Regions from separate parts of the Homo sapiens genome. Here regions 2, 3 and 4 are each linked to region 1. The links are contacts of gene promoters, found by promoter capture Hi-C in blood cells and fetal thymus (Javierre and others, 2016). All regions are on one chromosome and are shown on one strand. Each heading gives the region's core, a stretch centred on a gene start or on the middle of the fragment in contact. The rest is flanking DNA. Distances are from core to core; before and after follow the strand shown. Region 1 holds the start of TFPI2 (tissue factor pathway inhibitor 2). Region 2 has its middle 97 kb from the start of BET1. Region 3 has its middle 79 kb from the start of BET1. Region 4 overlaps LOC130890646 (a long non-coding RNA gene).

Region 1 (3,640 bases), core at 754-3,253:
ATAGTTTCAACTATCATTCTTAATCATAGACATCTGCTAATCAAAGCTGACAGCATTTCCAGATCAGGCTGGTTTTCCTAGGACTGTGACCTTGTAACATGACATCAGAATGACTGAAAACTGGCACAAGGATATAATGTGCAAAATACCTCAGATTATTAACCCACTTTGAGCAAGTGTGTCCTATACTTTTCAGGGCTTCCTGAAAACTTGAAAGAGAACTTCTGTAAACTACCCCCAGTATCCTCAGAAGTCAAGAATAATTATTTACTTGAGAATGTTGAATACAACAAGAGAAAAGGGGAAGGGAAGACAAGTATATTAAAATGTCTTCAAAAATATCTTTAATATTTTATGTAAAATTTCACTGTAGGTAATTGTTTGTATTAAAAAAAAAAGTGGATCACAAGCTAATATGTCAAAGGAACAGGGAACTTTAATGGATGCACTGACATTAGGAAATGTGTGGGAATACACTGATCTGGTCAAATCTTCAGAACTCCCCAAGGCTATCTCTCTGGGCTGCTATGGTTCTTCTCCAAAAACATAGATACATACAAAAACATAGCTTCATACATGCTTGGTTGGGGTGTAAAATGGTACAATCATCTTGAAAAAATCCTTTGGCAGTGTCTAACATTTCTAAGTATTTTATCCAAGAGTAATAAAAATTGCAGGTCCACACAAAGCAGCTTTTTTCATAAGAGCCCCCAAACAAACTAGAAACAACACAAATTCCAGTAATAAGACATTTGTGATATATTAGAATATTACTCAATGATTTAAAGGAACAGACTATTGATACACACAGCAACATATTTATACATTGTGGGATATTCATACGTTTTGGTAAATTCATACCTTGGACTACGCAGGAATTAAAAGAAACAGACTATTGATGCAGTGACCTGGGCGTATCTCAAAAACAGGAAGTGTGAGAAAGAAATACTACACAGTGAATACTTTATAATTCCGTTTATATGAAATTCAAGAATAGGCAAATCTAATCTATGGTAATCGAAATGAGAAGAGTGTTTGCCCCTGGCCTAAGGATGGAAGGATTGATTTAGGAAAAAGTCTGCAGGAGCTTTCTGGAGTGATGGAAATGTTCTAACTCTTTTTTTTTTCTTCTTCTTCTTCTTTTTCTTCGTTTCGAGACGGAGTTCCACTCTGCCGCCCAGACTGGAGTGCAGTGGCGCCATCTGGGCTCACTGCAGCCTCCGCCTCCTGGGTTCAAGCCATTCTCCTGCCTCAGCCTCCCGAGGGGCTGGGACTACAGGTGCCCGCCACCACGCCCGGCTAATTTTTTGTGTTTTTAATAGAGACGGGGTTTCGCCATGTTGGCCAGGCTAGTCTCGAACTCCTGATTTCAGGTGATCCACCCGCCTTGGCCTCCCAAAGTGCTGGGATTACAGGCGCGAGCTACCGCGCCCAGCCAAAATGTTCTAATTCTTTATTGGTGGCTACACAGTTGTCAAAATTTATCAAACTGTCCACCTACGATATATTATAAGCCTGTATTAAATGTAAATTAGAACTCGATTGAAATCTGTGTGTATAAATATAAATATACACTTATTTACATTTCTAATCTAATCTGAAGGTCCATTGCAACGAATCCCGCTCCGCTCTGACCCAAGAACTCCGCACTTTCTCTCCACCAGCCTTTCAAATACCTGAACTTCATGCCTTCAAGAGGTGGATTCCGGCTTCTTTACAGCGCAATCACTAGCAGGTCATTTCCGTCTAGCTTGCAGATTTCCCATTACTGACACAAACGCTCCCTCAGGGCGTCCCCGTCTGGACTACAGGAGAAAGTTTGGGAGGCAGGTTCAACTTTTCAACTTGGCGGGGAATTCCTCTCCCTCTTACACAGTTTGCAGCGCGGGGGCGGCGGGGTGACAGTCCCCGTGCATGAATCAGCCACCCCTCAGGCTCCGCCCCGGCGGGGGTCGGCCGGACGCTCGCCCCGCATAAAGCGGGCACCCGGGCCGCCTGGAGCAGAAAGCCGCGCACCTCCTCCCGCCAGGCGCTTTCTCGGACGCCTTGCCCAGCGGGCCGCCCGACCCCCTGCACCATGGACCCCGCTCGCCCCCTGGGGCTGTCGATTCTGCTGCTTTTCCTGACGGAGGCTGCACTGGGCGATGCTGCTCAGGAGCCAACAGGTATCTGGCCGCTCCAGGAGCTTCTCTCCCCAACCGGCGGAGAGGGCGCAGCGGGCCATGGGGCCCCGTGTAGGCGCCCTCCAAGCCTCGCTTTCTCCAGGTCCCTGCCGCGCGCTCCGCTGGCAGGGGGGACTCGCTCCCAAGTTTGCACTTTCTCTGCAGAGGCCCCTCCGCTCGGAAGGGGACAGAACTCCCCGGGATGTTCTTTCCTCCTAGGAGCTACGCCTGACCACTTTCCCTCTCTTTTGCTCTCCTTCTGCCCCTTCTTCAGGAAATAACGCGGAGATCTGTCTCCTGCCCCTAGACTACGGACCCTGCCGGGCCCTACTTCTCCGTTACTACTACGACAGGTACACGCAGAGCTGCCGCCAGTTCCTGTACGGGGGCTGCGAGGGCAACGCCAACAATTTCTACACCTGGGAGGCTTGCGACGATGCTTGCTGGAGGATAGAAAGTAAGTGCCCTGCGCGCACCCAGGACTCTCGCGCTCCTTGCGCCGGCGGCTGGTAGCAGCTTCGCCAGTTTCCCACGTCTCGCTTTCTACAGGAAGTTTTAGCCTGGGTTTTCTCAAGTGTTAAGCAAACCTCATGGTTTTCAGTTTCTTAAAAGTAATCACAAATTTACAACCACTAACACATTTCCTGTCTCCCAACTGACATTGATCATAATTCAGTGCCTGTGCGGACTCAGGGAAAGATTTGTTCCCTCACCATGGGGTATAATAAATGCAAGAGAATAACGTGTTAGGTACAACGTAAGTGCTTCTCTGTATTTTTCATTAATTCCAAACCTATGATTTTTATCTCTCCTGGAGTACATCATTTCCTTCTGTCGATTATCCATCAATCTGAAATATTTTTAGTGGATTTTATTATTGAAGTGTGACTTAGCTCATTATATAACTCTACTTTTGTCCCGATACCCAAACATGTGTTGGATTAGTTGCGGGACATGGTGGAGATTCATAATACTGTTATATTTTAATTTATTTTTAATTTTTAAATTATATCGGTTAAGGCCTGTAAGAGAACATGGGGCTTTTCCATTCAAGGAACTGAGCCAGGGGAAAATGCGTATTCATGTGAATAAGCTTTGATTCACTGCATATGTACAATCAGAGAACACCCAGAGAAAACAGAGAGTCTTTCTACTGAACTTGAAAGATACATCACAGCTGAGTCAGCTCTGAATACACTGTTAGAAAAAAAAAAAGTAAATATCTGGATTCATGGGAGTATTCTGGGTATTTACTATCCCAACACTAATACAACTTCTCTCCCCCCACAAAATGTTGCTGAAAATACAGTGATGGTTTAATAAGAAGGCTACTTTTGACTAACATTGTTCTATTACCCTCCTTTTCCTAGAAGTTCCCAAAGTTTGCCGGCTGCAAGTGAGTGTGGACGACCAGTGTGAGGGGTCCACAGAAAAGTATTTCTTTAATCTAAGTTCCATGACATGTGAAAAATTCTTTT
Region 2 (3,640 bases), core at 333-2,832, 210 kb before region 1:
GAATGGCTGTCCTGTGCATTGTAGGACATTTACAAGCAACCCTGGCCTCTATCCACCAGTAACAATCCAACCATCCAGCTCCCTCAACTCCAGCTGTGACAACCAAAAATGTCTTCAGACATTGCCAAATGTCCCCTGGATAGCAAAATTGCTCCAAGTTGAGAACCATTGAATTACATGATTATTTCTTCTCACTCACTTTATAGTTAACAGTCTCACATAAATATTTTAATTGTAAACTACTCTGAGCATTCATGTAAGTAGAGTTGTAAATTGTAAACATATTGGAACAAAGACAATTATGACTTTATTAAAAATTCATTAATATTCAGAAATGGATTGAGGCTTTATATAATAATCAACAGATTCCAAAATAATAGTTTTTCACTTCAACGCGAACTTTTTGAGATCTATGAAATTGCTTGCCCTCCTGAGCTTGTTTTCTTGTCTAAAAATTTAGCTAGGATTATCAACAATATTTCAAAAATGTATCATAGTTCTTTAGTACATGACTGTGTCCGGAATTGGTGGGTTCTTGGTCTCACTGACTTCAAGAATGAAGCCGCAGACCCTTGCGGTGAGTGTTACAGTTCTTAAAGATGGTGTGTCCGGAGTTTGCTCCTTCTGATGTTTGGACGTGTTCAGAGTTTCTTCCTTCTGGTGGGTTCGTGGTCTCACTGGCTTCAGGAGTGAAGCTGCAGACCTTCGCAGTGAGTGTTACAGCTCATAAAGACAGTACGGACCCAAAGAATGAGCAGCAGCAAGATTTATTACAAAGAGTGAAAGAACGAACCTTCCACTGTGTGGAAGAGGACCCAGGGGGTTGCCACTGCTGGCCTGGGCAGCCTGCTATTATTCCCTTATCTAACCCCACCCACATCCTGCTGATTGGCCCATTTTACAGAGAGCTGATTGCTCCGTTTTACAGACAGCTGATTGGTCCGTTTTACAGACAGCTGATTGGTCCGTTTTGACAGGGTGCTGATTGGTGCGTTTACAATCCCTGAGCTAGACACAGAGTGCTGATTGGTGTATTTACAATCGTCTAGCTAGACATAAAAGTTCTCCAAGTCCCCACTAGATTAACTAGACACAGAGCACTGATTGGTGCATTTACAAACCTTGAGCTAGACACAGAGTGCTGATTGGTGCATTTACAAACCTTGAGCTAGACACAGAGTGCTGATTGGTGTATTTACAATCCCCGAGCTAGACACAGAGTGCTGATTGGTGCGTTTACAATCCTTTAGCTAGACACAAAAGTTTTCCAAGTCCCCACTAGATTAGCTAGACACAGAGCACCAACTGGCGCATTTACAAACCTTGAGCTAGACACAGGGTGCTGATTGGTGTGTTTACAAACCTTGAGCTAGACACAGGGTGCTGATTGGTGTATTTACAATCCCTGAGCTAGACACAGAGTGCTGATTGGTGCGTTTACAATCCTTTAGCTAGACACAGAGCACTGATTGGTGTGTTTACAAACCTTGAGCTAGACACAGAGTGCTGATTGGTGCATTTACAATCCCTGAGCTAGACACAGAGTGCTGATTGGTGCATATACAATCTTCCAGCTAGATATAAAAGTTCTCCAAGTATCTACCTGACTGAGGAGCCCGGCTGGCTTCGCCTAGTGGATCCCGCACTGGGGCCACGGGCGGAGCTGCCCACCAGTCCCGTGCCACGTGCCTGCACTCCACCATTGGGCAGTGGATGAGACCAGGTGCATGGAGCAGGGGGCGGCACCCATCAGGGAGTCCGGGGCCTGGCGGGAGCCCATTGAGGGGGGTGGCTGAGGCCCCATGAAAATTCGAGTGTGGAGCAGGCGGGCTGGCAGTGCTGGGGGACCCAGCACCCCCTCTGCAGCTGCTGGCTGGAGTGCTAAGCCCCTCACTGCCCAGGGCCAGCGGCACCAGCTGGCCACTCTGAGTGCAGGGCCCACCAAGCCCACGCCCACCCGGAACTCACACTGGGCTGCGAGCGCATGCACAGCCCCGATTCCCGCCGGCGCCTCTCCCTCCACACCTCCCCACAAACAGAGGGAGCCGGCCCCGGCCTAGGCCAGCCCAGAGAGGGGCTCCCACAGTGCAGCAGGGGGCTGAAGGGCTCCTCAAGCGCAGCCAGAGTGGCGCCGTGGCCTGAGGAGGTGCCCAGAGCGAGCAAGGGCTGCCAGCACACTGTCACCTCTCAATAGCATGTGTAATCTGTGCATGGATATTACAGAAGATAACATATTACATAGAACTGGTGAAGTGAAGGGCAGAAGAAAGGAATCATAGGGTTAGTATTTGTCCTTCATTATATTTGTTTTTGTTTTTTTATTTATTACTCAGGAAAATGTCCTAAGACATCTGTCATAGCTGTGTGTTTGATGCTGGCTCCAGATAAGCATTGGTCCAGAAAAATAAGTATTTATTTATGGTATTTGAGATGGAGTTAATCTTGGATTTTTAGAGCTAGCTCTCATTAAAATTACTAGCATTTCTATTTACATTTTTTTCCTGTCTGTTGATGTTTTGTAAAGAAATATTTAAGTACCAAGTGGCTACATCTATGTGCCTCCAAATATGGGAATAAAAAATGAAAGCTATAGTCATCTAGATGTTCCTATGTTTGCATGTTTTGTTATATGTTAACAATGCTAATTAAAACCAAACAGGACAGATAATAACAGGAGGCCCCATTTTCCTACATACTCACATAAAAGAGAGCATGAGAAAATTGGAGTAATTTGAGGACATTTTATGTTTACATAATTAGAAAATATGTACTTCACTAAAATTCACTTCTTTTTTAAAAATGTCTGAAACACAGAGATACACTGTTATGTTACATTTAGGACTCTAGTATTCATTAGAATTATACTGCTTTACATAATTAGAAGGCCACTGAAAATAAAAGTAGTTTACTTTTATTCAATTAACACTAATCAAGCACATACATTATGCAGATGTTGTGCCACATGCTAGGAACCACTAAGATGAATAATTATGGTTTCTGCCTTTGGGAGTTCACAGTCCAAGCGGGTAACAGACAGTTAAGTGACTAGTGGCAGCATAAAGTGCAAAGAGGTGCATACTGTACCCTGTGAACATAGGCCATAGATGGAGGAACCAGCAGGCAGCTCTGTGTGGCTGGAGGTCACAGAGCTCAGTGGCAGGTTGTTTCAGAACATGGGCTGTAATGGTGGGCTGCAGACTTCATTCCTTAGAGAAAAAACAAAGTGAAAGTATTTTCTTCAGTTAACATTTGCTAGAGTTATACAAAAGCGGGATAGTAGTTATAGTACTTTTTTGCTGCTTTTATTGTAACAAAATAAATCAAGTTTTTGTTTTTGTTTTTAACTCAAATCTGACCAGTGGTGTATTTACCAATAAAAATACCCAAAATCAAAAAATAATATCTCTATTACTTGGAACTTCTGGTTTCCAATAGAAATTTTTTTCCTCTGACTACATAACTTTCACTAGTGTTATATAAGAAATTTTTCACTAGTCTTATTTAAGAACAAGCAAAGCTTGAAGTGACAAAACTTGTGGATGTATTTTATTTTCCTGAAGGTCACGTCAATCATAGACTCGGTGCTCCATGTTTTAAACAATTGAAGCCAATTTCTGTCATTTTTTTTTTCATACTAAGA
Region 3 (3,640 bases), core at 855-3,354, 190 kb before region 1:
AAAACATAAAAAGCACATAACCTGTGGGCTGTGGCATTGGCCCTATCCCGTGGGGCTACTGGGTTGTTTGTGGGTGCTGTGGAGGCTCAGTGCCCAGGTATAAGAGAGTTGGAGACACTGGTCTGTCCTTTGCTTATGCCTCCAGCTCCACTCTTAGTGGCAGTGGTTATGAGAACCCAGAATTGCAATAAGACCAGCTAGGAATCCCTGGCAGTGATGAAGAGGACCTGACCACTCCAGCTGCATAGTTTTTATTATTATTATTATTGGTTTGCAGGATAAAGCTCTGGAGCTATGAAATCACTTTTGCATTCAGGCTTGGATATTCAATTTGTGTTCGCTATGGTCTACTGGTGAACTTCACACAGGTTTTTCATCTTGAAGAGTTTATATATTTTATTGATAAATTTGAATTCAATGCTACAAAATTTGAACTTGAAATCATATCCTATGCCACTATTTATGACTCAGATCAGAAAGGTGCCACTTCTCTACGACAGAGTTCAGTCACTCATGGTCAAGCTTCCAGAATCAAGCCTTCATCATTTGAGCATGGATGAATTGAATATCTTTTTAAGCACATTGTATGTTGGTTTTATAAACTGGTTGCCTGTGTCAAAAGATCCCTGTACTGAATAGTATGCTGTAGTGGAAAGGTCAGTAATGTAATCTGTCATGATCACAACTCCTTTCCAAAGGGGTTCAAGAGTTATTTACAGGTGATTGCTTATATAGTTGGCCATGTTTTGTACCACATGACATTGAATTATTCTTCCACACTAGGCCCATGACCTGTGATCAGGTCAGAATTTGAACATGAACACCTAATTTCAAACTGGTCTAGAGTTGTGTGCCATGAACAGTGGTGGCAGTGTGGACTTTGGCAGCTGTAGAATAATATCTGATGAAAGAAGTGGCCAAGAAGAAAAAAATATCAAAATGTGGCCATAGGGTTCTTCCACCATGACAGTTGCTGCAGCTTGTGGCTCAGCACTGGATTGGTCTCATGGTGGACAGGCCTCCTAGTGAGCCAGTAGATGGAAGGTTTAACTCATGCACTCAAATAGTAAGAATCTACAAATATCCCTGAATTGGGAATGAAAGCGTTTTAAGAATGAAACAGCATGAAAATATAGAATCTGATAGAATCTGAAGTTTAAATAAAAAGTAAGTAAAATATTAAATAGAACAGTAAGATCTAATATCCATTGGTGTTATTAAATGCAATTGATGATCAAACTTTCACTGCCTACTATTTTATTTTAGACCTTGAAAAGCATGACAGATTCGAAAGTTAATTATGAAAAGGGAGGGAAACATCATCACAGTCTTTGTGTGCTTATCTTTATCCACCACAGCAGTTGATTAGCACTGCTTTATCTGAGGATGTTACAATGCAGACACATCAACAAAGCTCATTTATTAATTCTGTTAATGAAATTAGATTGTCAGAGCTTGTTTCTAAATTTTTGGATCAAAGCTGAATATTAATAAGTAAACAGATAATTGAAAATAGAGGAGTGCCTGCTCTACAGAACCCCCCATTCTCACCCCTCCACCATCTTTGAACCTGTAACATTTACTATATTTGCTTAGGTCACCTATACTTGGAGGACCTTCTATTTATTTGTTGTATGGGAAGCAGATGCTTTCTAGTGGGACAGTCAATCGCAATGTCACTCCTACGTGCTTCTTCATTTTTCTTTTTGCTCTTCCCCTTCATTATAGCTTGTCTCCAACAACACTGGTCTCCTCACCATTCGCTAAATACAATTTGTTCTTCTGCTTCTATGTTTCCATTCATGTCATTATTTCCAAAAAGAATGCCCCTTCCTTCCAATTCTCATCCTCAAGTCCTACCCATCCTTCAAAATGCAGCTAAAAATGACTTAATTTGGCCCCCAGAGCAGGATATGATCTTGTCCATCTGGGGTCATCCAAAAAAGTTATTTTCAAAGTTTGGTGTATATAAGAATCACTTATAGAGCATGTCACAAATGTAGATTCCTAGGCTTTACTCCTAACCTTTCTGATTTAAACAGATCTTGGGTGTGGCTCCATAAACTTCATTGTTTTTAAAAGTATCACCAACTAATTCGGATGCACTGTTTGTGGACCATTTCTTAAAAGGATTGTATAAGCCAGACACCTGACACCTTGTGTTTATTGTTTTACATTTTCTATTTGATTTGGATCTTAAGAGATAAAATGACATCATTAAATATTTTCAGAACAAATAAATGAAATTTCGCCGGCCAGGAGTTCAACCATCATTTGCTCTGTGAACAGCAGCAGGCAGCTGAAGTAGTAATCTTCTCAAAATCAAAGATTCTCAAATCCCACTGTAAAGGTATCTACCAGGTGAAAAGGACAACATTAAGTAACATCATGCACATCGGTGGTTCTTATCAATGTCCACTGAGTGGTCTTGACCCTTGATAAAATTTTCACCACTCTATCTAGAAAAGCAATAGGGCAATAGGATACATTTTTAACAAAGCGCTTACTTTTCTTTTTAAATTTAAATATGGTGTTTTATTTGGGAACTATGTTTTTCCTTTTTGTTGCTATTAAATGCTTTTTTTAATTTTCTGCATGAAATAGTAATACTAAATGACTATATTTTTAAACATCTTTACTTAAAAAATTTGCCTCTATAATAGACCCCGTTTTTAAAAAATGACCAGCTACTACTGGTCAGTAAAATGATAAAGTCCAAATACCTCTTAACTATGCATTAATTCCAGCATCTCCATTCCAAAGTGCATCTCCTTTTCCTAAGACTCTGATATGTGATGTATGGTGCAGCTGCTGGGTCTCTGTATGATTTTTCAGCAAACCCTCTGCAGACAGTGCTATGAGGAATAGCTCCACTTCCTTGAGGAAACACTCTACCCTCAACATTGACTTTCTTGAGGACATTCCAGACCTTTGCTAAATAGCTTATTGTGATGCCTTTCAGTTTTGTTGCCTTAAGAGTGTCACTTTTTCTTATGAGATGGTGGCAGTGAATGATAGAATTTAACACCCTTGAAATAAATTGATACACCCCTGTGATGCTGCACAAAGGACAGAAAACCACAAAGTACTGGAATTCAAGGACTTTATTTTGATTTATCTCATTTGTATTACTACATTGAGTTTATTATATTTCTACCAAGGAATAGAAGTTTATTATTAACCCTCAAGCAGTATTTCCTTGACATAGAATGATAGTGCAGCAAAGGCACTCTGAGATGTTTTTCCTCTGATGTGGAGGGAGCCATCCACTGAGTTATCTGCACTTCCTGGCTGGGAGTTGCTAACAGCTCTGTCTCTAGAACAGATCAGACCTAATGATCATAGGACATTCTCTATCCAACTGCAGAAGCCAAGCATCATTTTTGAGATAGTTTTTAAAATTCTCATTATGAAAATATAAAGCCTTGGTCCCTGTCTTTAGAATTAGAAGAAAATTTGTCACTCTTTGGGGCTGTAATTGTTTCCATAAATTGCCCATAGTTGAGACTTGATGCCAGCTAATTTACCAATACCTTCATAGGTGGCTGAGGAGTCTAAATATATGGTCTGAATTATTTGACAAACAACCATTGTCTCAGTTCCTCCAACCATGGAAAAAATTATGGTTTTTCATTAAGCA
Region 4 (3,640 bases), core at 357-2,856, 150 kb before region 1:
TAATCTAAGAGGGAAGTAATATTAGTGGCTCCATCATTTGAATAAAACAACCCTTGCTATAGAGAGGCGCTACAAGATCCTCTATAATCAAATAGCAAACCCTGGATTCAAAGCTACCTCTACTGCTTTCCAGTGGTCATATCTGATACCCATGGTGTGTGCTTAGAAAGAGGAAGTGAAGATGTACTTGAGTAGCATTCACTTTAAGTTAAGGCATCATTATCTGTTTGGGCTGCTGTGGAAACATCCTACTAATATCTGTTTTTACCTTCTATATTTAGTATCTATTGCTGCACAACAAATCATTCCAACATTTAGCTGCTTAAAATAACAAATAATTATATTCTCACACAGTTTCTGAACGTCGGGAGGCCAGGAGCCATTAAGCTGGTTTGTTCTAACTTGGAGTCTGTCAAGATGTTGACAGAGGCTACCATCATCTGAAGGCTTGACTGTGGCTAGAGGATTTGCTCCCTAGTTGGATCACATGGCTGTTGGAGTTCCAAGCTTCTTGCTAGAAGTTTTTAGTTTCTCATCACAGGGCAGCTAGCTTCCTCCAGAACAAATGATTAAAGAGAATGTGGTAGGGGCTGCATTGTCCGTTTTTATTAGGAGTGAATCACTGAACCCATCCACACTCAAGAGAAGAATTATACTCCAACTATTGAAACAAAGAATATAAGAGAATTTGTGATCATACTTTAAAACCACCACACCCTCTCTTTAATCAGCTCTACATGCTGCAGTTATTTTAATATTTTATAAACAAATCTGATCATATCTCTTTTTATTAAACGTTAAATGTATCTCATTGGTTTGTAGATTAAAAACCCAATGTCTTTGGTCCTACTTGATGTGGCCACTGCTTCCCAACCCTGCCTTTGTCATCTTCCACTCATCTTTGGCTTTCTGGCAACACTCTCTTGCTTTCAGTTCCACCAATATGCCAAATTCCTTTTGGTTCAGGACCTTTGCACCTGCTGCTTCTGTGGCCCAGAATTATCTTGCTTTTGCTTTTACTTATTCATCAGGTCTTGATCCAAAAAAAACCATCCCTCAGGAAAGCTTCTGTGACTCATAAGCCTTTATCAGATCCCCAGCTACAAGTTCTTCTTGTAGCTTGTACTTCTCCTCTGTGCCACTGATTATAGTTTACAGTGTTATATTTCTTTGATTTTTTGGTTATGGTTTTAAGTTTCTGTTTTGCTCACTATTGAATCCTAGTGCATGGTACAGGATATGGCTGGTATTAGTGTTTAATAAATGTATCTGTACTGAATATGCTACTATGAACGGAGGATGAGTTGATGGAACAAACACATCTGCTTTAAGATCCACTTTAAGAGTAGGCAAGTACATCTTTCTCTCTTATTTTTAATAACGACCTAAAGAAAAACAAACCTTGATAAGATATGCCAACAATGGGGGAATCAACAGAGGAAAAAAAATTAGAGGAAGATAAGGAAGGGATGTATGTAATCAGAACTCTGCTGTGGTATCTCAGAGCTGGCTAGCTCAGTGAAGAGATGCAGCCCTAATCTTAATGGCATTGATCTGGAACAGCTTGGACTCAAACTTTAGAATATATCTGCACATCAGGGTGGCTCCACAGGTGGAGGCTTACTATGCTTTAGAACTTTTATTCTGATGTTTTTCTTCATCAGCTGCCCATGATCCCATCATCCACAAATAATCTTAAAAAATGCACACATGGCAGTGTCTGGGCAATAGCCCATGGGTAAAAGCAGTACCTAGAGAATTACTTCTTTAGTTTCATCCTCTTTGTTAACATTTCCCTAGGGAGGCTCCTGGATCAGAACCATCCTAGGATTTGGCGACTCTCTTCCAATAGGTACAGGCTTCCGGGTGAGAGTTGGAAATTGTCCACAGCTACTCATTGTGTCGTCAAACTCTTTGCACTTGCAGGGACTAAGATGCCTGCATTTCTGAGGTTATTCACATAACAAGTGAGAAACAAAAACAGTTTGTTGGGAAATGAGTTCAGTTCCAGCAGCACAGCTCTGAGCCTAGAGATAAAACAAAGCTGCTTCTAAGAATAAAAGCAAATTCCGTGTTTTTCTCATTATGGTTTCTCCTGCATGAGTCCCTTAAAACCTCTTCTGTTGTGTCCAGGACTGAAAGCTTCTAGTGATCCGACTGAGTCTCTCTAATTGGGTGGTTGTAGTTCATCCTATTTTTCTTTAAAAAAATAAACTCATCAGCACTATAGCCTCAGGGGTCCATAAGGAACATGTTTATAGAGAAGAAGTTTTTGTGTTTATTAGCATGAAACAAAGCCCATTACACAAAAGCCTCAGAAACCCACTCTAGCCTCAGCAAGCTGTGGTTTCAAACATGAGCACGTGCTGTCACAAGCCATAAATCATTGCTTGTGACAGGCCCACAGGGCCCTGAGAAGGCTGTCCCTTCACTCAGCTAGGCTATTTGAGTCAGGGGAGCTTTAAAAAGACTACCTCCAAAAAATCACAACCATTCATTTTGGATTGAGGCTGTAGAAAGGACATTTCCTTCCAAGAAGGAATTTTTGAAGCACTTACTAACTTACTATCTGTCTGGCATATGATAGGTAATACATATGTATGTATGTATATATGGGGTTGAAATGAGTTTCTTGTTTTACGGATGAAGTCACTAGGTACCGAGAGATTAAATGGCTTGTCCCGGGTCACACAAGTAAGGGGTGGAATCAAAGTGTAAAAAAGGGGCTATCTAAACCCAAAGCCTCTCGTTTTCCTACCACAGTGTATATCCTCTTAATATAAGTCGAAGTTTGCACAAAAGCCTCTTTAGAGTCTCACTCTAAATACGCAGATGGAGAAGGAGAAAGGGGGCAAAGGAGCAGCCGACCTGGGTTTGGGTTCAGTGTCTGCTGCTGTGACAGCCTGGGTTGCCTGCCGGGCCATTTTCTTTGTGGGGATTAGGTTGGCTGCCCTGCTAGAGGAAGTCTTTATGTCAAGAACTAAGAAGAAATAATGTTGCACAGGGATAAGCCAGCAGGAAGAACACCAAATTAATTTCAACTGCTGCCAGAGGAAGAAAAGACGTTTTAGCAATTGATACCAAATGCCGACTGTTATGAGACACAGTATAAAAGCAAGTGACTTCAAGTTAAACCTGACCTGATCTATTAACAGAAACCATCAAGTAATTGCCTACTAATAGCAGTTGCCTGAAAGGTGCTGGAACCTATGTGAGGAAGTCTCAACTCTATCCAACCCACGCATTTCACAGCACTTGAAAGAACAGGGCCAGTGACTATATTAATATATATAAACTATCATCTTTAATTACTGCACTTAAAGGTGGCTGATTTGCGTATGCTTCATAGTTTTAACCTCCTCTTCCTCCTCCTCAAATAGGCATCTAATAAATGTTGAAGCGAGAAAGAAATGAAATGCAAGTAGGCAAAGATAGTGCAACAGGCTGACTTGATTGTGCTTTCTGAGTCAAACTAAGGTGCATTTCACTAAGACAAGTGAGAAATGAGACATAAATAGGTATCTGATTAACCCCATATTTAGCAAAAATTTTATATAGTAGAAGCCAATTTCTCATATTCAATTTTTTGCTAAATTGAAGTTTGACTTTTCAGTTTCCAAGTGAATTTTTAAATAAAATG

What was found. Contacts are between HindIII fragments. The CHiCAGO score rates a contact against its expected background, and 5 or more counts as called.
Region 2: a fragment that was not itself captured here is called in contact with the fragment with the promoter of TFPI2 in region 1 in 3 of 17 cell types (total B cells, M2 macrophages and megakaryocytes); the score reaches 6.7 in total B cells.
Region 3: a contact is called between a fragment that was not itself captured here and the fragment with the promoter of TFPI2 in region 1, in 6 of 17 cell types (megakaryocytes, total B cells, M2 macrophages and 3 more). The highest score is 9.6, in megakaryocytes.
Region 4: a contact is called between a fragment that was not itself captured here and the fragment with the promoter of TFPI2 in region 1, in 1 of 17 cell types (endothelial precursors). The highest score is 5.1, in endothelial precursors.

What each region holds. Positions count from the first base shown.
Region 1 is chr7:93,889,116-93,892,755 of GRCh38, reverse strand. It overlaps TFPI2 (tissue factor pathway inhibitor 2), which reads left to right and starts at 2,003. Exons shown (of 5, transcript NM_006528.4): 1 at 2,003-2,165; 2 at 2,437-2,619; 3 at 3,533-3,640. The coding sequence starts at 2,078. It overlaps TFPI2-DT (TFPI2 divergent transcript), which reads right to left and starts at 1,862. Exons shown (of 2, transcript NR_134235.1): 1 at 1,677-1,862. The HindIII fragment of the contact is 7,194 bases long and covers 1-3,257 here.
Region 2 is chr7:94,099,271-94,102,910 of GRCh38, reverse strand. No RefSeq gene overlaps it. Among named protein-coding and RNA genes, the nearest start is that of BET1, 97 kb to the right of the region's middle. The HindIII fragment of the contact is 3,875 bases long and covers 1-3,519 here.
Region 3 is chr7:94,081,922-94,085,561 of GRCh38, reverse strand. No RefSeq gene overlaps it. Among named protein-coding and RNA genes, the nearest start is that of BET1, 79 kb to the right of the region's middle. The HindIII fragment of the contact is 3,160 bases long and covers 525-3,640 here.
Region 4 is chr7:94,039,122-94,042,761 of GRCh38, reverse strand. The region is part of intron 1 of LOC130890646 (a long non-coding RNA gene); the gene reads right to left. Among named protein-coding and RNA genes, the nearest start is that of BET1, 37 kb to the right of the region's middle. The HindIII fragment of the contact is 1,077 bases long and covers 1,068-2,144 here.